2 separate regions of the Homo sapiens genome follow, and region 1 is linked to region 2. The links are contacts of gene promoters, found by promoter capture Hi-C in human tissues and cell types (Jung and others, 2019). All regions are on one chromosome and are shown on one strand. The core of a region is centred on a gene start or on the middle of the fragment in contact, and the rest is flanking DNA. Distances in the headings are between cores, read along the strand shown. Region 1 overlaps IGDCC3 (immunoglobulin superfamily DCC subclass member 3). Region 2 holds the start of CILP (cartilage intermediate layer protein).

Region 1 (4,810 bases), core at 2,027-4,526, 150 kb after region 2:
AGGGGCGAGTTCCCCAGTTTCCAGATGAAAATATCCCCTCCCACGCTGACCACAGCAGCCTAGAAGAGTAGTGAAAGGCCCCGCGTCCTGGATGCTGGGAGCCCGGGAAGCGAGGACACACGCACACTCGCACACTCATTCACATCCACAGACACACTCGGGCACACAGTTCGATGACTTGACAGCCGAGCAACCATGCAGCGCGGCGCTAATTGCACAGGATCCCACCGCCGTGCTGGGGTAGGGGCGCCGCTCCTCCTGCCTCGAGGACGAGGCATCATTTTCGGAGCCTGCTGCAGGGCTGCTTCCGCGGCCGCCGCACTCTGCCCATCGCGCCCCGCCCAGGGCAGAGCCAGACGTTCTGCGACCAGGGATCTGCGACCGCATCCTGAAACTTCGCAGCCTGGGCTGCTTTGGACACGTGCGCGGGCAGGAGCCAGGAGGGCGGTGACAGAGTGAGGTTAGCAAAAGGGGGAGAATGACAAGAGCGCTATTCTCAAAACTTTCATCCTGACATTAAAAAAAAAAAAGAAGTGGTACAGAGGGAGCTGGGGGGCCTGGAGGGAGGCAGAGGAGGAATTGGAGAGCCGTGTTCAGGATGAAAATGGGGTAGTGTCCGAGAACTTTACAATTGGGAAGGGATTTTAGGAATGTTTTAATCTGGTCTCCCCACACCACATTCCACCTAGGAGGAAACTAGAGGCCCACCCAGTAGGGTAAGCAGATGGGCCCAAAGTCACACAAAGGTGAGTTGAAATTTTACATATTAAAAGCAGCTTCTCCTGGAAGTGGGAGCCAGGGAGGGTGCACAGGTAGGCATCATGGTGTCAGGGTCAAGTCCAAGCTCCTCCTATGACTTTCAGTCTATAATGGTGGGGCCAGAGGAGGTATCCCCTCCAAGCCAGGCACCTCCTGTCTCCAGGACTCCCCTGGCTTCTCTGACCTGCTCACACGAAGCCTGAACAAAAGGTGCCCCCACTGGCAAGGGGTGAGGGTGGGTGGGGGGGTGCACAGAACTCCACACTCCAGAAATGCCTGGGCCTTACTCATCCTCTCCCCTTCAGAATGACTGATGACAGGGCCGTGCCCCCTCCCATTTTCCACAAAGACAAACTGAGGCTCAGCAGTGTTCAGGGAGGGAGCTTGAACCCAGAGCCGGTCGTCAGTGCAAGACTGTCTGCATCTTGCACTGGGTCCAGCAACATGAGGTGTCAGACCCACCAACGGTCCTGTCGGGGTGAGAATACATGGGGTTTTATTACCAGCGAGGTTTGGGGATTTTTTTTTTTTTTTTTTTTTTTTTTTAGACAGAGTCTCGCTCTGTCACCCAGGCTGGAGTGCAGTGGCCCCATCTCAGCTCACTGCAGCCTCCGCCTCCCGGGTTCCAGCGATTCTCCTGTCTCAGCCTCCCGAGTAGCTGGGATTACAGGTGCTTGCCAAGCCACCACACCCGGCTAATTTTTGTATTTTTAGTAGAGATGGGGTTTCACCATGTTGGCTGGTCTGGTCTGGAACTCCTGACCTCAGGTGATCTGCCCGCCTCAGCCTCCCAAAGTGCTGGGATTACAGGCGTGAGCCACCACCCCCAGCTGGTTTGGGGGTAAATTCTAGGTTGTCTTTGATTTCGCCCCACAAAAGCCCACAGGTGGAAAGGGGTTAGGTTGGGAGGGAAACATAAAAGGATGCTCATGGCAGACAGGGTCACAAACCTGGGCTCATATTCCGGGAATGATGAGCCCCCAAAACCAAGGGCCTTCAGGATGGGGATGGGAACCAGAACCCTCACCAGAAGTCAGGCTGGGGAGCGAGTGTGTAGCACTGAGCATCCAGGGCCGCCTGCTGGACCCCCAAGAGGGTGTGGTTTGGTGCTCCCTGGAAGCAGTGGTCCCCTATTCTTGGCTGTCACTCCAGAGACCCAATGCTTGCCCAGCCCCAGAGTCGGCCCCGTGGGCGTGTAATTCCACAAGGCTGTAGGCCACCTTCCCTGGGGGCTGTGGCTATTGCCCAGGCAAGGGGACAGGACAAGGACAATCAGCTGTCTCAGCTCCTCCAGGATGATTATGGCTTCTCCCTGCTGCCCACCCCCGCCACCCGCCTCCTGCCAGGACCCCTGGGGAGAAGGAGCCTTCTCAAGCCATTCCAGTTCCTCTCCTGTGATTTGTTCTGAATTTTCAAACAAAGAGTAATTATGACAGATGTGGAGCAATCAGCATCATTATGCGGAAACAAGAAAGGGAAAGGGAGCAAAGAGGAGGGGGGAATTTGTCTTTCCTCCTCAGGAAGAAGCAACTCCCACCTCTACCTCCAGCAGCCCCAGCCACCTCCCAGCTTCCTCTTCACTCAGGAACCCATTCCCAGCCAGCTCTTGCCCGCCTCACAGGTAGAGCAAGACTTGTCTACACAGAGCCTCCTGTAACTGGGATGTCCCAGCAGCAGCTGGGTCATGGAGTATGTAATCCTGCCTGGCCCACCCAGAAGTGGCTCCCACCTTGGCCAGGGTTCTAAGCTGTCCTCTGTTCTCTACACTCCCCTACTCTCACATTACATGCCTCCAGGTATCTGCTTTTATTTCTGAGGCATAAATACTGATAGGTTCTCCAGGGGTGTGAGCCCCTGCTAGAGACATTCAGGCCAGTGAATTTTTTGGGTCAGGCAGAACTGGGTTGAAATCCCAGCTTCCCCACTTACTGTGTACCCTCGGCCAATTTAATTAATCATTCTGGGATTTCGTTTACTCATCTGTAAAACAGGGCTAGTAATTCCTATTAATGGAATTGTGGGAATTAAATAAATTAGCACACAAAGGGCCTAGAACAGTGCAGCCCCATATTACTCTGACCACATTTACTGTTACTAACTAGTTCTCTACAAGAACCAGCACATAGGTAGCCCTCACACCTGCTGAGCTCAGCCTCCAGGGTGCTTTGGAAACTCAGAGACCCTCTGCAATCTGCCATGGAGGTCAGGAGCCCACATCCAAGGCTTAACAAGCCCACACCCACAGATAAACCAGAGCAGCACGAAAGAAAAACAGAGGGGCCGGGGCAGTGGCTCACACCTGTAATCCCAGCACTTTGGGAGGGTGAGGTGGGAGGATTGCTTGAGGAGTTTGAGGCCAGCCTGAAAAACGTGGTGGAACCTAATCTCTACCAAAATACAAAAATTAGCCCGGCGTGGTATTGTGTGCTTGTAGTCCCAGCTTTTTGGGAGGCTGAGATGGGAAGACTGCTTGAGCCCAGGAAGTTGAGGCTGCCCTGAGCCAAGATCGCACCACTGAACTCCAGCCTGGGTGACAGAGTGAGACCCTGTCTCAAAAAAGAAAAGAAAAAGAAAAATAGAACATGCACGCCAGTGTTTCCTAGGGGAGGACCATATAAGACTCCTCCTTTCTGAACCAGAGGGCAGTGAAGAGTGAGGCACTGGGGAAGGCCAGGGTTCAGAAGCCTGATAAACCAGAGACTCCCTTACCTGCCCAGACTGGAGGACCAGCCATGTCCTTGGGCAGGTCACTCACCTGGGGCTTCGGTTTCCAAGTCTGTAAAATGAGAAAGCTGGGCTAGATGAGCACCAAGGTTTTTCCCGAAGCTCTAATCCTACCAGGAGACCGGGAAGACCCCTAAGGACCTAAGGGGGTTGGGAATTTCAGGATTCTATTGCTGCAGCCTGCGACTCAATGAAAGGGCTAGAACTTGTGTCTCTCTCACGGTGGTCTGTCCCCTCCTCCATTCAGGTGGTCTGGTCTCCATCTTCCCACCCCAGGACCCTGTGGCCTCTTGATAGTACCCCCACCCTCACATTCCAATGGCCTTGGGGGCAGCAGCCAGACCAGAAAGTCCAGTTCCTGCCCATTATCACTGCCTGCATCTGCACTGCAACCTAACACCAGCATTCCAGAGAGCAGCCCAGGGCTGCCCCCACCACCCACTGTGGTCAGTGTCAGTGTCAGTGTCCAGGCTCAGAGACAGGCCCCAACCAGGGTTGGGCCCAGGGTTCTCAGATTCCTTTCAGGAAAGGTCTGCCCCCAGAGAGCCCCTGACTTGCTGGGGGGCTATGGACCCCATCCTTTGTTGCCCTCTTTGAACCTTATCTTCCCAGTCTCTCTCCTTAGTCTCTGCAGAGGCCCGAGCTCACCTACTTCTGCTTCTGAAACAGAAATCCCACTCTAGACAAGGCAGAAGATGGTAAACACAGGAACTCTCACAAAACTGAAGAAAGAGGCAGGCCGGGCACAGTGGTTCACACCTGTAATCCCAGCACTTTGGGAGGCCAAGGTGGGAGGATGGCTTGAGGCCAGGAATTTGGACCAGCCTTGGCAACATAGTGAGACCCTCATCTCTACAAAAAATTTTAAAAATTTGGCCGGGTGCAGTGGCTCATGCCTGTAATCCCAGCACTTTGGGAGGCTGAGACGGGTGGACCACTTGAGGTCAGGAGTTCGAGACCAGCCTGACCAACATGGTGAAACCCAGTATCCACTAAAAATACAAAAATTGGCTGGGCGTGGTGGCAGGCGCCTGTAGTCCCAGCTACTCGGGAGGCTGAGGCAGGAGACTCATTTGAACCCGGGAGGTGGAGGTTGCAGTGAGCCGAGATTGAGCCACTGCACTCCAGCCTGGGCAAAAGAGACAGACATTGTCTCAAAAAAAAAAAAAAAAAAAAAACTAGCTGGATGAGGTGACACATGCCTGTAGTCCCAGCTACTCAGGAGGCTGAGGTTGGAGGATCTCTTGAGCCCAGGATTTCAAGGCCAAGATCACTCCACTGCACTCCAGCCTGGGCAGCAGAGTGAGATCCTATCTCTAAAGAAAAA
Region 2 (5,019 bases), core at 262-2,761:
GAATGATATGAAAGTGATATCTGCCTGAGTTGTGAAACCAGGTAGCTTGGGAGGTGCAGAGGCTCAGAATCTGAGTTCAAATGAGGCAGACTAGGTTCCATCCCTGGGGGTAGGCTCCAGGGCCCCACATGGAGATGAGGCACAAGGACAAGCAGGGGCGAGGAGGTTCCTTGCAATGAGGAGAGTCCAGGGCTCACCCCCAGCAGCCTCTTGGTGACTCGTCACTTCTAAAACCCAGGCCTGAGGGGCATTTGTTTTGCCATCCTTTGATGGAGTTCACACTCTCACACAGGCGGGTACATATTAAGGCCGTGAAGACTTGGCTCCGACTCCAGTGGCCTCTCATAAGGCAGGCTGGCTGGAGGGTGCAGATGCCTCGGACATACCACCTCCATGAACACATTCCCAGATGTGCACGGGCTGCAGCTGGAACACATTTCTGGCCTTTTTGTTTGGGGCCTGACTGGGAGTTACACAGCCAGGAGCCAGCTGACGGAAAGCAGAGGGGATGCATTGTGAGAGGCCAGGGCTCCCCAGTAACTGCTGAGCGTGGGTGAGGAACTGCAAGGGTCAGGAGAGGAAAGCAGGCCTGGGACAAGGGCAAGGAACTATGGGGCGTGCGTGGCCCAGGCCGCAGCTGAGCAGAACATTTTTATGTCTCCCCAGAGCTCCGGCCAACCCAGAATCTGACTCGTTTCTGGGGATTCAAAAGTGGTTCCCTTCAACATCCTAAGTCCAGGGTGTGGTAGGAAAGGGAAGAGTCCTCCTCTCTAAAAAATACACATATCTGAAAACACTGGGATATTCCAGGGGAAGAAAAAACCAGTCCCATGCTGCAGACCTTCTAGCTCTAAAACCACTGGCCCCACCACTACCTGTTTCTCGGATGAGGGAGCAGAGTCACCAGGACGTCCCAAAGGCCTCCACATTGTGTGTATCCCTCTGGGCTCCAAGCAGGGAGCTGAGCAGTCTGCTGGCCTGCACTGCATTCAGCCTGAGCCTGAGCCTGCTCCAGGGATGTCTGGAGGCTGAGGTGGCCTGAGACACCTTGTGGAAAAACCATTTCCCATCTGGCAGCCCACAGAGGTTTCTCAGCATCTCCGCCGTTTCCTCAGCATATGCCCTGATGGTTAGGCTTGCCATCCCACGCTCCTCAGAACACTTGGACAAAGCAGACTGGCTGACCGCAGGGAATAAAGCAGGGCACCCAGAGGTATGGAAACCCTAAGTGGGACCATCTGGGGGTTCCTGTCCTCAGGTGGGGGAGGGAGAGGACTTTGGGCCAATGGGGGAAAGCAGATTCCCAAAGCAGAAAGGGAGTCTTCTCTGTGGGAGATGAAGGATCAGGCAGCAAAAAGTGGGGGGAAGTGGGGAGAAGGGAATGGAGTAGTCAGGGGAGGGCAGGAGCAGTTGAGTCCAGCAGTGGGGTGCAGGGATGGGGTGAGGGGAATAGGAGTGGAGCTCACCGTGTCTTGAGCAGGACTCCTCAGCTGGGGGTCCAAGCCTTCGCCTCTCCAGCAGTCCAGTGCCGGCCTTATATAGCACAGCTGGTGGCTCAGCCTGTGGCAGCCAGCCAGAGGAAGCAGCAGCGAAACCAGATCTGAGCATGAGCCTCCCTCTCCCCTCCCCATGTCCCCTTGCAGTTCACAGAGGCCAGGATTTTATGTCCAGATCCTAAGGAGGAGATGCCGCAGGACCTGGTGATGGGCCAGGTGGGCAGTGGCCTGGGGCATCACAGTCCAGAGCAGAGAGAGGGGTCAGGAGGTGGGCTGGGCACTAGAAACAGCCCTGGGAAGGGGCCACGGGGAATTCTAGATCTGGGCAGCATTTCATGGCCCGGGGGATGGTGTGCTCTTGCCTAAGCCTAGCTTGCTGATGCCCCACATTCCCCTGGCCCTGGCTCGCCCACACAGAGAAAAGACTTTGCTGGTCTTAGCACATACTCCAAACACTCTTAGGCACACAGGCCACCTTGGCCTCTCAGCTGGGTGTGTCTGGTCTGAGTTGGGCAACTACTCAGCTTCTCTGGCTTCTGAGGGAACACTCAGGGAACCTCAGAAGGGATAAGGGACAAAAGAATTGTGGGGCATAGGTTGTCAGCTGGTGAGAACAGTTCTTCCTTTCTCCCCCCCACTTCCATCTGAGTGCCTGCTGGTACCCACTGAGACCCCAGAGCTCCAGCATGTGGACTCTTCTGAGACCCTGATGCTCATATATGTGCATGCGTGTGAGTACGTGTCTGCCTTCAGGTATAGGCATCCACCAGCATGTGAACAGCCAGTGTTACCCATAGGGGGCGTATGCAGCTGCATGTGCTCTGGGGCTTCACACCCCCACTCCCGGCCCCCTGGCCCCAGCATGAGGTTATCTGTTTGCACAGACACTGGTTCTCTAATTTTAGCATGTGTTAGAATCACCTGGAGGGCGGTTAAAGCAGATTTCTGGACCCCACACCCAGAGTTTCTGATTCAGTGGGGCCTGAGACTTTGCATTCTAACAAGTTCCCAGATGAGATTGATGCTGTTGGTTCATGGATCACATTTTGAGATTGACTGGTCACAGTGATAGAGCCCCAGTTGAAGGAAGAAGATGAAGAGCGAGTGTACTAAGGACCACAGTGGGAGCTTCCCAGGTCCTGCCCCATGTAGCAGGCTCATCTAGCCTGGGCTGGGCTTCCTGCCTCATGCCAGCAACTGGAGATGGAGGCCTGGTCCTGTGGCCATCCACGCCAGGGTCAGCTCACTCTCTCCACATACCTTTACCGAGCTCTTATTCCCAGGCTCTAGACTGGGCACTGGGAAGGCACAAGAAAAGAGATGTATCCTTGCACTCAGAGGAAAGAGCCTCACGTGGAAATGATCCCGTAGTACAACAGTGCATACCCACATGCCAGAGAGTTCTGTGTGTGTGTGTTTATGCCTTTTCCTGTGTGTATGTGTCTTTCTGTGTGTGTGTGTGTATGTGTGCGTAAGAGCTGTTTTTTCTGAGCATTGCCTTTGACAAGATATACTGGGAGGCTGGGTGGAGTGGCTCACGCCTGTAATCCCAACACTGTGGGAGACAGGGGCGGGTGGATCACTTGAGGTCAGGAGTTCAAGACCAGCCTGGTCAACATAGTGAAACCCATCTCTACTAAAAATAGAAAAACTAGCCAGGCATGGTGGAGTGTGCCTGTAATCCCAGCTACTTGGGAGACTGAGGCAGGAGAGTGGCTTGAACCCAGGAGGCAGAGGATGCAGTGAGTTGAGATCGTGCCACTGCACTCCAGCCTGGGTGACAGAGTGAGACTTGGTCTAAAAAAAAAAAAAAAAAAATCTGCTGGGGAAGAGAGTGGGGGTGGAGAAAGGATGTTGAGCAGCATGGTTCCCAAGTAGACCTGGGGCATAGATCTGATTTGCTTTATCTCCTGGAGCCCCGTCTCCCTCCTGGCCACCAGCCCTTGGTTCATAAGCCCTGTAGTTGGCCCTAGTCTGGTCCAACTTGTCAGAGCCAAGCCATGACTCAGTTTCAGCCATGGCTTTGACTGCAGACGTCTGAACTGAGTGAACCCCATGTGAAATCTGATGGCCTAAGGAATAGACAGACAGACAGGCTGAGCCACAATCCCCAGATCAAAGGACAGGAGAAAAATTGAAATTTGGAATTCAGAAGCCTAGTCCTGGCTGTTTCTGATTCTGATATGCGACCGTGAACTAGCAAGAACCCAAGTAACCCTGGGCCTCAGGTGTGCAACGGGAGATGGACTGAGTGAGTTTGCAGGCCCCTGCCAGCTCTGAGATTGCAAGGTTTGAGATATACAGATGCTCTTTGGCTTATAGTAATGTCCCAATAAACCCACTGTAAGTTGAAAATATCATAAGTAAAAAAAATACGCTTAATGCACCTAACCTACTGAACATCAGAACTTAGCCTAGCCTACCTTAAATATGTTCAGAACACTTACATTAGCCTACAGTAGCCTACAGTTGTACGAAACCATCTAACAAAAAGCCTATTTTACCATAAAGTATTGATTATCTCATGTGATACATTGAATACTGTACTGAAAGTGAAAAACACAATGGTTGTACAGGAAAGTACAGTTTCTACTGAATTTGTGTCACATTTGCACATCATAAAGTCGGAAAATTGTAACTTGAATCATCCTAAGTTGGGGACCATCTGTACTGACAGCAAACAGAGCTGGGAGGAGAGAGTGGAGGGAACGACTGCTCCTACGTGTCTGGCAGAAGTCAGAGGAGCCAGTGTGGAGTCAAGGTCAGGAGGAAGTCCAGAGAAGCAGATATGACCACCAAGGCTGGATAAGGACAGCAAGAGAGATACACAGGAAAGGAAGGTAGTGGGAGGTAAACCAGAGGGCAAGGTCAGGGTAATCAGCTGCTCTCCAAGGCCTTCATTCTGTGGAATGCCAGGGTGGGTAAGAGACGCCTCCCCAGCCTCCCAGTCACCTCCATCTCTTTCTGTAGTGGGAGGCAGGGTACCCTATGGGTGAGGATTGGGCAAAGTGGAGTGTTTTAGGCCAGGATTCCTGCCTGGGTCTCCTCATTCAGCCCAGCACTCACACTGAGGCCCTCACTTACCTAGCCCCAAGTGGCCAGTGCGTGTTAATATGGTAAGTACAGGGTTGAGGGCTGCGTTCCAATTCCACCATGCCATTTCCGTCCACCTGTCTCATATCTTGCCTCCTCCCATACTCCCATCAGAGTCCTTTCCTGTCTCCAAGTAGGAATGAGCTGTGTGAGCTGCACAGGGCTAGACTGGGGAAATCTGAGCCTGCCCTCACTCTCTCTTCCCAGGACTCCTTTGGGGGGGAAGCTATTGCTGTCCTCAACCAGGACCCCAGAATAGAGAGGGCTTTGGAGGTGGCCGTAGGTCTAGACTGTCCAAGGCCTGGCCTGGGTGGGTCAGCCTCAGCCACGAGTGGCCATCTGGGGCTTCTGCAAGCCAGGCTACTCTGCAGCCACTCCAAGCTTCTGCCTGGAACATGCTGGAAACCCATCAATCACCCCATCCCTGCCC

The links. The method cuts DNA at HindIII sites, captures the fragments that hold promoters and counts their contacts. A contact is called where the count stands out against the background at its distance.
Region 1: a contact is called between a fragment that was not itself captured here and the fragment with the promoter of CILP in region 2, in 1 of the 25 tissues and cell types used here (bladder).

The regions. Positions count from the first base shown.
Region 1 is chr15:65,361,569-65,366,378 of GRCh38, forward strand. The region is part of intron 2 of IGDCC3 (immunoglobulin superfamily DCC subclass member 3); the gene reads right to left. Among named protein-coding and RNA genes, the nearest start is that of IGDCC3, 14 kb to the right of the region's middle. RefSeq lists an enhancer at 1,489-2,354. The HindIII fragment of the contact is 5,574 bases long and covers 490-4,810 here.
Region 2 is chr15:65,209,962-65,214,980 of GRCh38, forward strand. It overlaps CILP (cartilage intermediate layer protein), which reads right to left and starts at 1,512. Exons shown (of 9, transcript NM_003613.4): 1 at 1,467-1,512. RefSeq lists an enhancer at 2,141-3,042. The HindIII fragment of the contact is 7,172 bases long and covers 1-5,019 here.